Linked DNA regions of Homo sapiens: all the other regions are linked to region 1. Evidence: promoter capture Hi-C in 16 types of primary human blood cells and fetal thymus (Javierre and others, 2016). All regions are on one chromosome and are shown on one strand. The core of a region is centred on a gene start or on the middle of the fragment in contact, and the rest is flanking DNA. Distances in the headings are between cores, read along the strand shown.

The links. The method cuts DNA at HindIII sites, captures the fragments that hold promoters and counts their contacts. A CHiCAGO score of 5 or more calls a contact.
Region 2: a fragment that was not itself captured here is called in contact with the fragment with the promoter of ACTG1 in region 1 in 1 of 17 cell types (total B cells); the score reaches 7.8 in total B cells.
Region 3: a fragment that was not itself captured here is called in contact with the fragment with the promoter of ACTG1 in region 1 in 2 of 17 cell types (naive B cells and total B cells); the score reaches 12.5 in naive B cells.
Region 4: a contact is called between a fragment that was not itself captured here and the fragment with the promoter of ACTG1 in region 1, in 2 of 17 cell types (total B cells and naive B cells). The highest score is 5.5, in total B cells.

Annotation. Positions count from the first base shown.
Region 1 is chr17:81,511,549-81,515,977 of GRCh38, forward strand. It overlaps ACTG1 (actin gamma 1), which reads right to left and starts at 1,251. Exons shown (of 6, transcript NM_001614.5): 1 at 1,186-1,251; 2 at 684-812; 3 at 355-594; 4 at 1-78. The coding sequence starts at 806. It also overlaps a transcript of FSCN2 not described here. RefSeq lists enhancers at 697-786, 1,997-2,276, 2,307-2,356, 3,499-4,122, 4,123-4,429 and silencers at 1,007-1,176, 1,377-1,856, 2,487-2,676, 2,897-3,616, 3,687-3,736. The HindIII fragment of the contact is 3,930 bases long and covers 1-2,936 here.
Region 2 is chr17:79,787,567-79,791,995 of GRCh38, forward strand. CBX2 (chromobox 2) reads left to right here. Exons shown (of 5, transcript NM_005189.3): 5 at 1-417. Among named protein-coding and RNA genes, the nearest start is that of CBX8, 7.3 kb to the right of the region's middle. RefSeq lists a silencer at 2,391-2,540 and an enhancer at 3,202-4,011. The HindIII fragment of the contact is 4,309 bases long and covers 338-4,429 here.
Region 3 is chr17:79,806,379-79,810,807 of GRCh38, forward strand. LOC124904071 (a long non-coding RNA gene) reads left to right here and starts at 2,219. Exons shown (of 2, transcript XR_007065928.1): 1 at 2,219-2,608. RefSeq lists an enhancer at 2,755-2,884 and silencers at 3,694-3,773, 3,974-4,093. The HindIII fragment of the contact is 1,094 bases long and covers 1,570-2,663 here.
Region 4 is chr17:79,833,051-79,837,479 of GRCh38, forward strand. CBX4 (chromobox 4) reads right to left here. Exons shown (of 5, transcript NM_003655.3): 4 at 2,596-2,662; 5 at 106-2,345. The coding sequence ends at 909. Among named protein-coding and RNA genes, the nearest start is that of CBX4, 4.2 kb to the right of the region's middle. RefSeq lists enhancers at 1,973-2,022, 2,938-3,759 and silencers at 4,130-4,179, 4,220-4,429, 4,230-4,309. The HindIII fragment of the contact is 4,097 bases long and covers 159-4,255 here.

The DNA.
Region 1 (4,429 bases), core at 1-2,500:
GCGCCCAGAGGCGTAGAGGGACAGCACGGCCTGGATGGCCACGTACATGGCCGGGGTGTTGAAGGTCTCAAACATAATCTGAGAAGGGACAAGGGGCGGCTTAGTCAGGGACAGAGACCCACGGCCACCCCATGCTCACACGCCACAACATGCTGCATGCCAGTGTGATGTGTGGAGAAAAGAAAAGAACGCAGGCAGAAACCAAATGAGAAACCTGGAGGCTTCAGGGAGGAAATGCCGGGAGAGGAACAGAGCCTGGAACAGCGAAAGAAACACTTAAATGTCAGAAATCAAGCCGGGCAGAAAATGACTGGGGAAAGGACGGGAGGAGCACGGGCGTCGGCCGAGCCTCACCTGAGTCATCTTCTCTCTGTTGGCCTTGGGGTTCAGGGGGGCCTCGGTCAGCAGCACTGGGTGCTCCTCCGGGGCCACGCGCAGCTCGTTGTAGAAGGTGTGGTGCCAGATCTTCTCCATGTCGTCCCAGTTGGTGACGATGCCATGCTCAATGGGGTACTTCAGGGTCAGGATGCCACGCTTGCTCTGGGCCTCGTCGCCCACGTAGGAGTCCTTCTGGCCCATGCCCACCATGACGCCCTGCAGGGGACGACCCGTCAGCCTCGCCGGCGACACCGAACCCACCCCGCAACGCAGAACCCAGGAGCCCCGCGGCGCCATCCACTCACCTGGTGTCTGGGGCGCCCGACGATGGAAGGAAACACGGCTCGGGGAGCGTCGTCCCCAGCAAAACCAGCTTTGCACATGCCGGAGCCATTGTCAATGACCAGCGCGGCGATCTCTTCTTCCATTGCGACCTGCCCGGAAAAGGATGGACTCAGGCGGGCGCGTCTGTAACACGGTCCCCTCCCCACAGCCACCTAATGCCCTCCCGCGGGGAAGCCTCGGCCCTGCCCCAACCCCAGCGGCCGTGGCCTCCAAGATCGCAACCGCCTGGAACCGAAGGCCGGGCCTTTTACGTAACGTCCACGGCTCGGAAGTCTGCACTGCGGCCGGGCCCCGCCCTGGACCCCCGGCGCCCCCCCAGCCCCGTCCGCCTGACCCGGCCCACCCCGCCTTTTGTTCCCGGGGAAGGCGCGACGAGGCCTCGGCAGCTGGAAGCGGGGCCAGCCGGGGTCGGGGGGCGCAGGCCTGCGACGTCCAGCTCAGGCCCCGGGGCGGGGCGCTCACCGGCAGAGAAACGCGACGGCGGAGCGGCGGAAGAACAGAGTGCGAGAGCTGGCAGCGGCGACTGAGACCGACCGCGGCCTCCCCCGCCGTTATTTAAGCGGAAGCGGCGCGCCCGCGCGGCCCGGCGGCGCGCGCGGCCCCAGAACATGTCCATATATGGCGATCTTTCCGAAAGCCGGGCACCCATTGGCCCGCCGGGCAGGGACACGTGGGGCCCCGGCCCGCCCCGCCCCCAGCCCGCACCGCCTCCCAACGGCCCCGCCCGCGCCACCCCCGCGCGCTCGCGACCCTGCGCGGGCCGGCGGGCGGGTCTGAGTTGGGGCGCCCTCCGAGGGTCGCCGGGAGGGCCGAAGGGCTGACGGGCCTGGCCCCTCCCCGGGACTGCCGCGCCGTGGGGAGGGCCCTGCTGCGCCCCGAAACTGCCTGACCCGGGGCGGGGCCGCGCCGGAGCTGGGGTGGGTCCCCGAGTCCCCGGCCACGCTGCGGGGCTTTGCTCCCTGGGACGTCCCTTGCAATCTTTCCCCTCGGGCTCCACGAGGATCTCGGGCGCCAGTGCCGGGCTGAGGAAGGGGCGCGGCGGGGGTCCGCGACGCTCTGCGTCCCTGGGCGCGGGGGAGCTCTCAGGAGCCCTCACCTCGCCCCGGTCACCATAGGAAACAGCCCGCCCGTCCCCAAGCGCAGCCACCACCATGCAGGTCCCTCCACGGGGCGCCCTGCCCCGGATCTCCGTTCGTTTGAAGACCGAGGCCCCTTTCTACCCGACCCGACACATCCCTGCCCCTCAAATCACAGGCCTGATTGTCCCCAGGCGCGCGCTCCGGGTTGGGGCTACCCCGCCCCCTTATGTGCTGAGAAGGTGGTGTGGAGTGAGGCCTTTGTTTCATTCTGGTCACCTGTAGACATTATAGGGAAACTGAGGTAGACAATGGGAGCCCTGACTTTTTTGAAGGTCGGCTCCCCAGCTTCGGGCGGTCGGGGGGATACCCTCTTCTGTTTACGATGCTAGTTAAGAGCAGCGATCAGGGCTGGCGTGGGTTTAGCCACAGGCTTGTCCAGGGCGCTCACTCCTCGCCAGGAGCGGCGCCGGTGCTTTGGTTACACCCCGAGAGGCGCCCGGCACTACGGTTTCCTTGTGCGCTGCTGGAATTTTCAGGGTTGGAGCGCCGGCCGCGTAGGGGTGGCAGTGAGGCCGCGCAGTGAGGGGACGGACTCGCCCGAGGTCGCAGAGCGTTCAGATTGACTCGACAGGCTGGGGGGCGGGGCCGGGGTCCCCACGCGGAGTCCGGGGCCCTGCAACGTTAGCTCGCGACCCCGTGTTTGGGAGTGACAACAGCGAGTCAGGGCAAGGCGGCCGGCCCAGCTCACCTGCGGGCTGCAGTCAGCCCGGACGCCGAGACCCGTGCCTAAGGCCCCCGTGCCCCAGGCCTCCCAGGGGTGCTGAGCGCCCCCAGGCCCAGAATCTCCGGGGGCCCGGGCAAGGCTGTCAGGTATGTTCCCTCCCGTGGCGAAGCCGGGGCTGGGCCTCCAACAGACCCACCCGGACTCGCGTCCCTGGGCAGAACCACACAGCCTGCTCGACCCCCGGGTGAGGACTTCCACTTGGGGGGTCCCAAGATGCGACGTCACACACCGAGGGACACGAGGCGGGTGGGGAATAGCCACAAGCCCCTCCATCCTGCGTTCACCCCACACTACGTTCTGCTCCGGGCCGGCCGGGGACCCTGCCCCTCCGGGTCTCTGGTCTCCTCCGAAGCTTCTTTGTCTAGGAAGTGCGGGGAGGTGCCGGCCCCGGGCGCGCGTCCCCGTCCCCCACCTTTCTTCCCCACGTTGCGGACCCGAGGCCGCCAGGGTCGTGGGGGCGGGGGCGAGGCTGGCGCCTCGAGACCCCCGGGTTCCCCGCCACCCGCAGGGCCTGAGCCGCGGGGAGGGGCGGGGAGGGGACGCCGCCGCGGGCCGGGGGTGGAGAGCGACTTCCTCCTCCGCGGCCGCGTCACGCGGCAGGGGTCAAGGTGTGGCCCAGGTACGCGGCGGGGGGCGGTGGCGCGGCCATATTTGGCGACTTCGGCGCCGCCGGAGCCCCGCCCGCCTCCGCCGGGAAGCCCGGCCCGGGGCAGCGCCATCCCCGCCCGCCGCCGGGCCTGAGTCACGGCGGGCGGGGGGCGGAAGTAACGGACGGGGGGCGCCCGCCCGGCGCTCCTGGCCTTATTTAGTCAAGGAGGCCGCCGATTGGCGCGCGGGACAGAGGGGCGGCGGCCGGGCAGCCTCGGGGCGTAGGAGTGGCCCGGCGCCTCCGAGGGGTCGGGGCGGGAGCCGGGCGTGGGGGGCCTCGGAGCCTGGGGAGTCCCGGGACCGACGGCGGCGGGGATGCGGGTCTGCCTGTCCCTGGGATGCGGGCGGGCGGGCAGGGCGAGGCCTGGAGCCCGCGGGGCGCAGGGGGCTGGACCGCGCGCTGTGATTTTTCTGTTTAGCAGCGGGGCCTCGCCCAAGGTCGCGCGGGGCCTGTCCTGGATATGCTCTGGGAAGCCAGTGGCGCAGGGCAGCCGCCACCCTTCTGGAACCAGTGCCGGAGAGGGCCGGGCAGCTGGGCCTGGGGAGGGGACCGCATGGATGGAGCTGGGGGTAGCTGGGCGGCCTCCGGAGCCGGGAGAGTCGGCAGCTGCACTTCCGCCAGAGGTGGGTGTGTCCTTCACATTTCAGGAAGGGAGACTTGGGGCCTGGAGAAGCGATGTGATTTTTCTTTTCTAGTTCAGTGCTGGTTTTGATGGCTTTTTATCATGACCTTGTTATGTCTTATTTTAGTTTCGGCCCATTTAGTGGATACGACAACAGTGGCCCAGGGAGGTATGGCAGAGCTGAGGCTTAACCCAGGGCCTGCGCCCTCCACGGCCTGCACTGCCCCACCTCCAGCTCCTTGCCCTGTTCCTCCCTCTGCACCGGATCAGCCCCCGGACTCTGGGTCACCTCCACACCAGTTGACAGGGCCCCCCAGTCCCCACCGCCAACCACCTGGCCGGCTACTTGTCAGACAGACATGGGGGCGTGGGCATGGGTCCCCACCCCTAGCCTTTGCCTCTGTCACTCTACCTGCCTGGAATGTCTACTTTTTCTTTATATTTTATTTTATTGTATTTTTGAGACAGTCTCATTGTCGCCCAGGCTGGAGCGCAGTGGCGCGATCTTGGCTCGCTGCAACCTCTGTCTCCGGGGTTCAAGCGATTCTCGGGCCTTAGCCTCCCGAGTAGCT
Region 2 (4,429 bases), core at 1,242-3,741, 1.7 Mb before region 1:
TTTATTTGCTGCTATTTGTGTGTGTGTTTGTGTTTGTGTAGCTAGGTATCTGGCACTTCTGACGATGCATTGTTGCTTTTTTCCCGAAGGTCCCGCAGGAACTGTGGCAATGGTGTGTGTGTGAAATGGTGTGTTAACCGCGTTTTGTTTGCTCCTGTATTGAATAGGAAGCAGTGGCCAGTCTGTCTTCCTTAGAGATGTTAGCATATTTTTATATGTATATATTTTGTACCAAAAAAGAGTGTTCCTTGTTTTGGTTACACTCGAAATTCTGACCTAGCTGGAGAGGGCTCTGGGCCGAGAGCTTTCACTAAGGGGAGACTTCAGGGGAGGATCAAGCTTTGAACCAAAGCCAATCACTGGCTTGATTTGTGTTTTTTAATTAAAAAAAAAATCATTCATGTATGCCACTTCTAATTGCTTTCAACTATGGCTGTTTGCTTTCTTAAAAGAGAACAAAAGTAGATATGTTATTGCCCTAGGAAAGGATCTCTGTTGAAACAGGACAGCAGCCTAGGGCCCACATTTAATTAGGATCAACCAGTTTAAGGAAATGCTTCCCCCAAAAAGCCCCTGATGGTGTGGGGAAGGGGAATGGTGAGTTGGGAACAGGTAGTGCCTACATGACCAGATTTTACTCAAGTGCATCTCATGATTCTGTGGGTTTTCTAGCATTTTTGGAAAACTAGCATAGGTTGCAGGGTTTTTTCTTCTTTTAGACTGATGTTAATTTATTTTGCAGGGGAAGGACAGCAAATGGCGTCAGAAGATTTTTGTCCTTTTGTTATCTCTTAGTATATCAATAAATTTTTAAAAAAAAAATTTGGCCTGATGTACATCATGAGTGATCCCTGGAAACACAGTAGACTCTGCTCTTTTCCTTTCTTGAGGCAAAATAATTCGTCTGGACATAGGCCAAATACTTGGGGCACAGAAAAATCAAAGACTGGGAAAGGCCACTTGCAGAGGGTGCAGAAAAAGATATGTTTCCAAGCAAAGGATGGGTGTTTAAGAGTCCATATACCAGTGGCTCACAACAGAGAACAACTGGCATTCCAGGGAACACTTGCAGATCTGGAGATCTTGCTTGTCACGCTGTGGGGTGGATGCCACTTGCATCTAGTGGGTGGATACCAGGAGTGCTGCTAGACGTCCTGAGGTGCACAGAACAGTCTCCATGACAGAAAGAAATGATCCTTCCCAGCACGTCAGTAGTGCTGAGTTTGAGAGACTGAATTAATGGGAAAAACAGAAAAAACACAATGGCAGGGGTTGGGGGCAGGGGCGGCATTATCGGCATCTGTCAGGTGAGGTCAGGGATGCTGCAATATATAATCAACTCATTTTGAGACTGCTCCCTTCAAAAGACATGCAAAGTTAAAATAAAACTCCCTCTCCCCGCGCCCACAGTATCCAGAGATGCTGTGTTGGAAAGCCACTCAACCCCTTGAAGCCACCACATGTGCTAATAATGCTTTACAAGGAGGCAGCCATAAAATTCCAGGGGAGTCACTGTGAGTTAGCAGCTACTGCAACTCCTAACCCAAAGCTCGCGAATAAAGAGGCGATTTGCTTATTACAGAACCTTCCCCGGCTCCTTAAGGCTTCCACCAACTTCAGCATGAATTTATTCATGAATTCCAGCCTCCAGGGAGAATAGAGCTTCTTTGAAGTGAAGAGAGAAGCTGGGCCTAGATGTTGGAGTAACTGGGTGAAAAGCTACTTGGGGCCAAGGCCTGAATGTTTTGGTTCAGGAAAGGGTTCCCCCTGCAAATGGAAATGTGACCCCCAGCACTAGCCCGCTCCAGGAAGTCCTGCGAATTCGAAATCGACTGTTGCAGAGAAAGAAGACTGCTGGTGGGCTCTCTTTTGCTGCCTTCGCAAGGCTCTGGCTGTTTCCTTTTGGAGAAAGTGGGCAAGGGCGACCCCAGCGGGCCTGTCCTCTGGCTTATGAGAGCTGCAGAAAGGGGCTGGGACCGCCAGGAAGGAGCAAGCTGGCCGAGCAGGAGCAGGCGCGGCCCCGGATGTGGAGCCAGGCTTTCGGGAGAGCCCATTTCTACAGGGATTCGGCCCGACGGGTGCCGGGCCGAGCTCGCTCGGCCTTTGTTAGTTTCGGCGCCGCTGATGTGATCGCCTAATCCAGTGGACCCTGAGAAGAACAGACTGGGCTGCCAATGGCCCGACCCCACGCCGCCGCGACCTGCCCGAGGGCACCGGGAGCGATGGGTGCGGAGGGGCTGGGAGGACGGTCATCCGGGCGGCTGGACCTCTCCTTCCTCCCCTCCGCCTTCGTGGCTCGAGCGCCGGGCCTCAGGGAGGACGCAGAGGGGGCGCCCGTGGCGGTGGGCGCCCAGCGGTACCTTTGGGTCGGGGGGAGGTAAGGCTTTCTCAGCTCGGGTTCGGAACCAGAAAGCCACCGGCCCCCCGGGGGTAAGGGGTGGGCGCCGGCGACCCGGGCCGACGCCGCCACCTGCAGAGGGCGCGCGCGTCCCACCAAGGTCGGCCGCCGGCCCTTCGGACGGACGAGGGAAAAGCCAGCCGCGGCTCCAGGGTGCCCGAGACTCAATCGCACCACCTGCACCCCGGCCACCTCCGCCTCCGAAGTCTCAGGAGGAAAGCCCCGACCCAGCCCGCAGCCTCTCTCGCCGCGTTCAGGACCCGAGGCTGCGGGCAGCCGCCTTCCACGACGGACAGCACGGAGTCCCGCCGGGCCCCGAGCCACGCCAGTCTCGGACTTCAGCTGGGTCCGAGGCTCCTCTGGGCCTGGAGGGCTTTTAGAGGAGAAGAGGAAACCAGCACAGGAGCCCCAGAGGGCCGGGACAGGTCTGTGCGCCAGCGGCCCGGGCGCATGGCACAGTGCCTGGATCAGGATTGGTGCGAAGCCAGCATCAAACGGACAGAAAATGAATCCGATCCGACACTCTAGGAAGAGCATGAACCTTCCAATCCAACCAATGTTTGTGCGAGGCCAGGTTCCCCGCCGCGGTGGCCACACAAGCCAGCCCTGTCCTCGGGACGCAAGGTAACCAGTCCGGCTGGAGGCCGCCACGCACGCCTGGTCTCTGCAGTTGTGGCGGATTCCCAGGGACTCTGCCCAGGAAATGGAAACCCGTGAGGGCGCTCCTCAAAGCCGAGGGTGGTGATGGCCAGCGAACCCGAAAAAGGGGCAGGGTGGGCGCCCTCCCATCCGCTTAAGCAGTAGCCCATTCCACTGCCCCACACGCCCAGGAGTGGACGCAGGAGGGAGCCCCGTCCGAGTGGACGCAGGAGGGAGCCCCGTCCAAGTGGCGACCATCGCGGGGCCACCCCACCCACCTTCCCTTGACGTCCCCTGCCAGCACAGAGACCGCCCGTTGCGGTGGGGCAGTCTCGGGCGGAGATCTTTGACGCCTGGCGGCCAGCGACCCTACTCGGCCGGCAGCGCAGGCCCTCACGTCGGAAGGACACTCAAGGCTCTGTGACCCGCTAACCTGGGCCTGGGCAGCAGGACGCTGCTGTCCTCCCGCGCCCTCCCACACCGGTCACAGCTGGGGAAGGGGGAAGCTCTGCCAAGGGCCGGGCCACTGACTCCTCAGCAAGGGGCTGGAGATGCGTGAGCTACCCCTGTCCATGTTCCTCCTGGTGGGCGTTAGGGGTGAGCCTGAATCGTGGCTTCCTGGCAGGGTGACGTCTGCGGGGCACTACGGAAGTAGAAATGGGTTTAGTGCGGTGGCCTCTTTGGGGATCCGAAGAGTGGCTCTCCTGTGCGGGCTTCAAGACCCCGCCCCCACTGCTGTGAAGTCTGCGGCCAGAAAAGGCCAAGAACATCTCTCTCTCCACCCCCCACCCCGCACTCTGCTCTCCCGCACCGTCCCTTGCCCAGCGCTGGGGTTTAGGCCCGCCCAGGAGACCTGGGCCGGAGAGGCTGCGGGGACTCGGGGGCGGGGGTGCGCGGGGCTGCGGCGCGGCGGCTCCAGGTTCACTAATCACATCAGCAGCGCTCTGCGCCGGCTCCGAGCTTGCAGTTGCCTAGCAATACCCGCGAATTCAATTCCTCAATCAATAGGCGCGAGGCTCTGCATTTAGGGGAGCGCTAGCAAGGTTGGGTGGGTCTGGGGAGTGGGTCTCAAGACAGCTACGAGGGGCTGGCACCGGGAGGCTTTGGCTAACGCGGCGAGGCCCCGGGGCCTCGGAGACCAGACGCCTCCGGCCTGGGGGTGTGGCGCGCTGGAGGATCCCGCCAGAGGAAAGTGGAACCCCCGACCTCAGGCGCATCCTCCCGGGATCCCCAGATTCTGCCCGGGGCCCGAAGAAGTGCAGCCAGTAGGTGCGGAGAGCCACGGATTCCCCCGGACGGGCTGAGGGGAGTCTGCCCCAGCGGCCTCCCACGCCCACCTCTATCCCAGCCAGGTGGGTTCCCCAGTTGGGGAAGGGCCTTTGCAGGAACGGT
Region 3 (4,429 bases), core at 867-3,366, 1.7 Mb before region 1:
TGCAGGGGTTACCAATTCTTCTGTTCCCTGAAACCTTTTCTTAGGTCTGCAAGACAGGATCTCTGGCGGACCTCATTCTCCAGCCTGCTCCAGGCATTATACGAGCTCTGGGATGGGGGTGGGCAGTCCCTTGGGGAACTGTCCTCTCTACCCCACCCCCACTCTGTCCCAAGCTGAGGGGAGGGGTTGGACCTCTCCTCTTGAGGGGGGCGCCATTCAGCCTGGAAGGGCCTGAGCAATGGGAAGGGTGTCCACTGGATAGGGGTGCAGGACACTGGGCTTCAGCCTTGGAGTGGTCTTACAGCTCCCCAGTGAGGGACAGCGGGGTGGGTACAGGTCCCTCTCAGGAGTCGGGAACATCTAAGAGCATATCCCCAAGTCTGACCCTCACTTTGCACAAGTCTGGTGTGCAGTGGTGTCCAGCCGAAATGAAGAAGGTGGGCACAGGTGGGCATGGGGGAGTCGAGGGTCTTCAGGAGCAGGTGGGGCCATCGCTGGCAGAGATCACAGAGATGTCGTTCCCAGAGTGAGGGCATCGAGTGTAGGGAAAGAAAAGGGGAGAAAGACAGGAGTGGATGTTGGGGGAGATGATTTGCCACGGCAAGACAGGGCAAGACTGAGTCACTTTCTCCCACAGCTCCTGTTGGGTCCTTCGGCACCTGCAGTCTAACCCAGGTGCCTCACCAGCTGCCTCTCTCAACACTGACTGCCCGTCCCTTCAAATCGTGGGACTAGTGGCCAGTGGAATCTGGGGAAGTGCCTCACGTGCTTGCACCACAAGATCAGGTCTCTCTCCTGGAAATCAGTGGTCCCACCTGCAGAATGGGCCAGTTCTTTCCCATTTTGTTGCTATGACAGGCATCTGTAATGGACCCACAGGATCCCAGGAAAGCAGGACTCCATACTACACACACACACACACACACACACACACACACACTTGCTGTTTTTCCAAGATGAGAAAGGAGTCCTAGGCTCGGTTTCTTCCGCAGCTTCTGTGGGTTCACGCATCCCCTTCCCTGGAAGGAAAGTTTCTGGGGCTGTCTACATGGCAGTTCCAAGGATGCCCTGGGAAGTGGTGTGTGAAGGGTTGCAGGGCCCTGGATTGTCACAGGGGGCAGGGCAGGGCAGAGGGTGGAGCTAGGCAGGACTGGAAGAAAGTGTGCAAGGGCAGGAAGGGGGTTGGATCTGATACCCACCAACCACTCATCACGGCATCTGCGAGGGAGTGCTGGGAATACCTGTTTCTACAGTGGCTCAAATGGACATGATGTGTTATGGTGTTTGTATCCCATTGGTATCTAGCCTGGCACAAGAGGGTGTACCAGAGTGCTGGGAGTGGACAGATGTAGCCACCATCCGCTGAGTGAGGGCTGCTCTGAGCCAGGCTTTGTGCTGGAGGTTTACGGGACTCTGCTTCTATTCCTCATCACAACCCTTAGAGGGAGGCTCCATTTAAAGATGAAGACACAGGCTCAGAGGGTTAAGTAACTTGTTAATGACCAAGTTAAGTCACAGGACAGAGCTCAACCTAAATCTGTCACCCAAGAGTTGAGGAGCCTAAGGGGAAGCTTCAGGGTAGCTCTTGCTGGTGTGGAACCAGGCACCTAGGGGAGCCGGGCATGGCTGTGCTGCGCTAGGGTTTGGAGCTTGGCATGAAGAGCAGCCTGTGGCAATGTCACTGGCTATGGCCAATCCCAGCCTTTGGCGGGACCAGGAGCTTAGCAGCCTGAGACCAGAGACCCACTGGCTTTTCCAGCCTCTGTCCAGCTGCTCAGGGAGTAGGACTGGCTGAGATCAATGGTAGTCAGTTTCAAGTCCCCATGCTAGGGCTCCTGGGTTCCAGGATTGACAAGCCACATTGACACAGAAGCCCATGCCTGGGCTGCTGCTGAGATGCACCTGCATAATGCATAAAACAGTGGATTGGGAATGAAATCCAGGCTTGCTCTGCCCCTGGCTAACTGGGTTACCTTGGACAAGTCTCTCTCTTTCTCCCTGCAAAACCAGCATTCGGAGCAGGCAGCCTTGGGGCCGCCAGTCTGGTCTCCATGTTCGACACCTCGAGATCATTCGTGTAGGCATATGAGGGTTTTCCTGAACCTTTTGGAAATACTTGTTGACTGTTGAGTGCTGACCACTGATGCACATGCCCAGGGCAGTACACAGAACCCTGGAGTTTGTGCCTGCCCAAGAAGCTAGGGACTCCTAGTAGGAGTGGCAGATTCCTGTCCCAGATACACCGGGTACTGGCCACCATTTTCCCAATGATGCCAGGCCCAGAGCTACCAAATACCTACTAGGAGACACAGGGTGGCAAGAGGAGGACTCCAGGGGAAGGCCTGTGTGACTAGGCTACCATTCCAGGCTCAACTCTGGCGAGGAACAATCTAAGGTGTGCTCCTCCCTCCAGCCCCACACTGCTGGCAGCAAGGCTGCAGCTCAGACTAATTCCAGGTACATTCTATAGGTGGCATCATGCTACTGGAAATGGCCTCCTTGGAGAAAGAGGCTCTCTTGTCAGCATCTCCAGGCACTGGCGAGCCGAGGCAAGGTTGACACAATCACAGTCTAAACTGCGCGGAGAAGGACACCTGAGGGGCGATGGGTATGTGCTGAGGGACAGTCCTCTCCATATTAGGGGCCACTGCTCCAGGTGCATAAGCTTCTTCCGTGCCATCCACCGGTGAGGCCTTGGGGCCTGTGGGTGTCGGGGGTCTCTCCTGCCTTCTGCCACCCGTGGGAGGTAAAGGCCTCACTGTGCACCTGGTGGGGGTGCTAGGCGGGCTACCACTAGGTCTACAACAGCATACACCTGCACCAAGTCGCCTTGCCACCAGGCTGCGTGAGAGAACTGGGTCAGTGCACCACGTGTCCTAGCCAGAGAGGCCCCTCCACACTCCCTGGACATCCTGGGGCCACTTTCACCGTCCAGACCCTTGCAGGGGCAGCTCAGACTCCTCTTCCGTGGGCAAACAGACCAGCCAGAAGTGGGGAGAGGGAAAGCAAGTGGGGCGTCCTGTTCGAGACGGACACTGAGGTCACCAGCACAGGCAGGCGTCAATCTGACCAAGGAGACCAGGATCTCAGGAGGCTTCACCCAGGACCCACCGCCCCTCTGGCAGAGAATCCCTGAGATGACTCCTTCCTTGCCCAGATCCGGCCCTGATGGCTTCAATCTTCCGAGCTGGGGGGCCTGTCCCCTATCCCCCCAGCCTCTTGCAGCCTGCCGTCAGGAGCAGGGCTGGCACAGCGACAGAGAAGAAAGGTGTGACAGCGACACCTCTCACCTCTCCCTTCCACCACCTGGCTGGCTCCAGGCCGCCCGCGCCTCCAGGGCACAGAGCCAGTGGGTCCTCGTGGCCACTGTTCCCGGCCTCCTGGCGCTGAGGCTCCACGCAGCACTCTACCGGCGCCTCCCCCCGGCCCCCGCCCCCCGCCCAGACCCTAGGGCTTTTCCCCTTCTCTCCCCCAGGCGTTCTGCTTGGTTTGCCGGGATCCCAGGCGTCTGCTCAAACTCAACACGGACTGGCTCACATTTTTTTAAACAAAAGCAATTAGATTTCAATCCCGGTTCATCTGCATTTGCACCTCCAAATGGGGGGGCAGGGGGAGAGGGAAAGGATGGGGAGCGCGGCGGCGGCGAGTGGCACCTTCCGAGCGCTGCAGCTGGCCGGGCAGCCATTGCGCCGGCCACATCTGGCCCGGGCTGAACGGCCGCCGCGGCCCCCTCCCCGCCGGCTCCCGGGGCCCGCGCGCCGCAGCCCGCTCGGCGGCGCGCTCATCGATCGCCGGGGCCGCGGCCGGGCGAGCGGAGAACAAGGTATAGCCTGTATTTAGGTTCCTGCCCTTATATGGCGATGTGCGCGAGCGCCCGCCGAGCGGCCGCACCATATAAGGGCACGCGGCGGGCGCCGGGCTGAGCTGGTGCGCGCTCATTGGCCCGCGCGTCTCTCGGCAACCGGCTCTCACGAGTGGAAACCAGCCAGCCGCCCCCGCCCGCTCCCCGCCCCCTCCCTTTCTTTCTCCCCGGGTATCTCCGCTCCTCGCCTCCGCACCCCCTTCGTTGCTTAACCCCCCTTTTTGCCTGTACCCTCTCCCCAATTTTTCTTCCCGCGGCCTTCCTCCTCCCTTTGCCTCGTTGTCATTCTTCTCCCGTGGCCGCTTGGCCTGTCCTCTCCCGCTCCGCGCACGCTCCCACTCCCACCCCACGCACCCCCTCCCCAAACCCGGCGAGCAACGGCGGAGGAGCGGGAAGGCCCGGATGCGGGAGGGGAGCTTGTGTGCGTGTGTGTCTGTGCGTGTGTGTGTGTGTGCGTGTGTGTGTGTGTGTGTGAGAGTGTGTCGCTGCCGCAGTAGCCGCTGCAGCATCAGGTTCACTGCGTGCACGCACGGGGCTCTGGGAACAGTCCGAGACCGCCCCCCCCCA
Region 4 (4,429 bases), core at 957-3,456, 1.7 Mb before region 1:
CCGCGGCCCGCAAAACCAGCCCACTTCGCTGGTGCAAAGGTTCAGCACAGGGCTCGAAGGCGGAGTTGGTGGCGAGAGGGGTCCGCTCATCTCAAACAGCGAAAATGCACCTTCAACATCTCCATTTAATATTTACATTCAAGCAGGTAATAGTTGGAAGCTTATAGTTTAGACATTTCTAGTAGCAGCAGTTTCTAGAGAGCTCGTGTAGCCTTTTAACAAACTTTTTTTTTTTTTTTTTTTTGCACATAGAAACAAGACATCCATGTGTACAGTATCAAAAAATATATACCAAGGTTACTGGTATTGCAGTTCGTGGAAGGGGAAGAGAGGGGAGAAAATGAAATCAACCGAAATACTGGATGGAGGGGAAGAAAGGTCAAAAGAAAATAGTTTGTCTGATATAGAATATAACATGATCTAGAGGAAACTCCATAAATCTAGGTTTTTATATTTCAATATATAAATACCTACAAATAAATATATATATAGCAGCCCGAAGGGGGGTGGTCGGGCCTTTTGAGCTCAAACAATACATTTCAATAATAACACCACGTACAAACGGGAGTAGAGTCAGCACTTGACAAGTTAGCACGGTTAAAATATAATACTAGAACTCTGAGGCCGGGCGCAGAGCTGCCCTGTCCGTTCCGGGGGTCCATCTCCAGCGGGGAAGGGCAGGAGAGGGCGAGCCCCGCCGGCACCGCGTGGAAGGGGCCTCCGCCCAGGTCTGACAGCCGCCGCAGGGGGAACATGGTTACCTCCGCTCCGGGCGTCCTCACCCTGGGGGCCAGCCTGGGTCTCTCGCGGTTGGCGGGTTGGCGAGAGGGGAGCCCGCCCCGAGGCCCCAGGTGCTCAGCTCCCCGCCCCCCCGCGGGAATGGCGCTTCCCCTTCCGACGCCCTCCGGCTACACCGTCACGTACTCCTTGAAAGTAACGGTGAGGCAGTTCGCGGTGACGTCGGTGATAATTATATTCCCAAAGAAGGGCTTGAACTCGCTCAGCGACTCTGCAGGTTCGTCCTGGGCCTCGGCTGGAGGCTTCTCCGCCGTCGTGGTGGGTGCCGCTGCCGCCGCCACCGCCACCGCCGCCGACGCCGGTGTCTCGGGCTTCACCTGGAGGGAGCTGGGCGGCTCCCCGGCCTCGCTGCGCGTCTTGACGCAGCGCAAGTCTATGGGTTCATCCAGGTCTGAGTCTAGCAGGATGACCTCGGGCTGCGGGAGGGCGGCGGCTGGTGGCAGGTCGGCCGGGCGCTCAGCGGCTGGGCTGCCCCCCAGGCAGGTGGGGGTGCTGATGCTGCGCGCAGTCAGCCGCTTCTTGCAGGGCTCGCGCTCGCCGTGGGTCTCGGAGAGGCAGCGCTTGCGCACGTGGGAGAGATTCAGGCCGACGGCGTGGTGGTGGTGGTGGTGGTGGTGGTGGTGGTGATGGGGGTGCGGGTGCGGGTGGTGTGAGGGCGGGTGCGTGTTCCGGGCCGGGTCCCAGGCAAGCAGGTCGGGCTTGGTGGTGAGCTGCAGGGGCTGCTCTCCAAAGGCCTCCTTGGTCGGGGACAGCTTGCGGGAGCCGGCATCCTGGGGCTGCGGATCGCTAACCCCGGACACCTCCTCCTCCCTCCTCTTGGGCGGCGCCTCCACCTTCTTCTCCTCTGCGCCCGCCGCCTTTTTAAAAGTCCTGTCGGCAGGAGGGTGGCGCTCGTCGGCTGCCCGCTTCTTGTGGCTGGGGGAGCGAGCCTCCCCCTCTGCCACCTCGCCGGACTTGATCTTCACCGCCTGCATGCCGTTCTCCATGTATTTGCTCATCACGATCACGATGCGTCCGTTCTTGTTCTTGTTCTTGACTATCTTCATCTTGCCCCCAATCCCGTTGCCCGTCACAGCCTCTTTGGGGGCCGGCATCATTCCGTTGGGGGGGCCCTTCTCGGAGCCTTTGCCTGGAGCACCCGCCGCACCGGCCAGGGGCTTCACCGCCCCCAGGTAGCCTTTGGCCCCCGCACCTTGCGCCCACTTGTCGGGCGGGTGGCTCTTGGCCCCCAGGTCCGGGCAGGTGGGGCTGGGCGCCTCCTTGTGGCCGCCCTGGTACTGCAGGTCGTACATTTTGGGGTCGGGCTGGTAGGGGTGGTGCTTCTTGCTGTTGAGCTGGTAGTAGTACTTGCCGCTCTTGCCCGGCGGCGGGGGCTTGCCCGCCCGCTCCTTGCTGTGCGGCTGGTACTGGTGGTGCTTCTTGCTGTTGAGCTCGTACTGATGCCCCTGGCCCTTCCCCTGCGCGCCCAAATCCAGCTTGGCACGGTTGTCAGTGGAGGAGTCCTGGAGGCCGGTCAGGACATTGGAACGACGGGCAAAGGTAGGCACCTGAGGGAACGGGTGCAGGGGTGAGAGGAGGGAGGAGACAGCCCCACCGCATGCCGGGAGTTTCTGGAGCGTCCCAGCCCCCACCAGGTCCGCAGCTGCCTCATGGGGGGCAGGAGGTGGGAGGTCTAGTAGAAAGGGAACAGGGTCAGGGTGCTGGGAGGAACCACCACCACCCCCCCCATCCCCAGGCCTGGAGGCAGCTCTGGTGGCCATGTCAAGGGGGTGCCCAGGGGCGGCCGTGTGTATTCACCTGCACCACTAGCGGTTTGGGCTTCGGCCCTCTCTTCCGATATCCCATCAGCTGCTCCTGCCGTTCCCTGGGTGGGAGGGAACAGAGGGCAGTGCTGTTAGCCTCAGGGTCGCCCCCTACCCGCTAATTCCGGAATCTTCTGTGATGCCCCCCCCCCCGCTTCAGAGAGCATCAGGTAGGGCTGGCCGGACACAGGAATCAAGAGTTCAGGGCAGGTCAGGCCTCTGCGCCCTTAACCCTCACACCAACCCTCCTCTGCCCAAGAGGTCCTGGGCAAAGGGCTCCCCCACTTTGATGCCCACACCCGAACCAGCACCCCCCCAAGCCCCACCTCTGTGCTCAGGAGGCAGAAGCTCAGGGCTGCACCTCTGGCCCTCCTGCCCACGGCCTTGGGCCTGTGGCTCTGTGCGAAGCAAAGTGGACACGGGGATCCAGGGAAGACAAACCAGCCCAAGCGAGGTGTGCGCCGACCTCATCCCTCCCGTCAGAAGCGCGGGATGCTAATGACCTCATTAAGATTCCGATAACGAGTGCCTCCGGCAGAAGGGAGGGCCCTTTCTTAAAGGCCAGGCACTAAACAGGGGGAGGGGCTGCGCCCTTGTTTACACAGCGGCAAATGAGCCAATTAGGGGCTGGGGGCGGGGGCGGGCCACCAAGGCCAGGGTGTGGCCAGGTTTGTGGCCACCTGGTGAACGCTGCGCTCCTCCCAGCTGAGCAGGTGGGCGTGGCCGGAGCAGCTTAGAGAAGCACCGCCTCCTCCTCGGAGTCTGGCTCCTGGCTGCCTCAATTTCCAAATAATGAATAAAGCCCATGGGCGGAGGCACCGGTCACTACAGCCACCAGGCTCCTGCCTGCAGGCCAGCCTAAGGGTGATCCACAGCTGGGGGCTGGATCTTCCCAGGCACTACCCAGCCCTCCACGGACGAGTGGGATGCCTCTCTAGTGTCTGCCAAAGTTGCAGCCCATTCCTGGGCCGGAAACGGGTTCCTCACAGACCCTAGCTACCACCCCCATGCCTCCTTGGACCAACCCTGGGGAGTTCTGACATGCCCCAGGGCGGGGGCCGGGGCCTGACTCTGAAGTTGCGTGGCATTGCGACAGCCTGCGTTTTAATTCTTCAGGGACCCATTATGCAACGTGGCATCAGCCGCTGACATGGTTACAGGGTGGTGAACTCCCAGGTGGAATGGGGCAGGATCCCAGCTACGTGCCCCCCCTGCATTGCGGGAGGGCAACTGCCCTGCCCCGCCGGTGGCTAGCTCAGAGGGTCTACAGTTTACAGTTTTAGCGCCAAACGCGCCACAGGAAATAGTGCAAAATAAAAGGGGGAGGAGAGATGGAAGGCAGCGGGGTGGCCGAGCTCCAAGGGCCCCGGCTGCTCCTCCCCTCCTCGCCCTTCCCCCTTCTACCCTCTCCGAAACAGAGAACCACAGCCACCGGCGACGAACCCAGCTGCAGCAGCTGCAGCGTGACAAGCAACCGTGCGCACGAGGATGAGTCCCCCAGAAGAAGCCACCCCTCCACCACCAAGCAGCGCCCACCCCAGGCCCTTGGGCCAAGCCCCCCTGCCTTGAGGGTGGGTGGCCCTGCCCTGCCAAACAGCCCAGTGGGGTCCGGGGCGGGGGGCAACCCAGCACCCTATGGAATCTACTCCTGACCAAGCTTAAATTCCCTGGGGTGTGCGGGTGCAGCTTTTAAGGCCATGTCAACTTTCCTCCAGCCGCCAACAGGTTAAGTTCAGTTCCATGACGTCCGGGCGGTTTCACAATGCCAGCTCCCTCAGAGCTGCACCGCGAGGTGCTGGTGCCAAGCGGCCAGTGGCTGCAGGACAGCA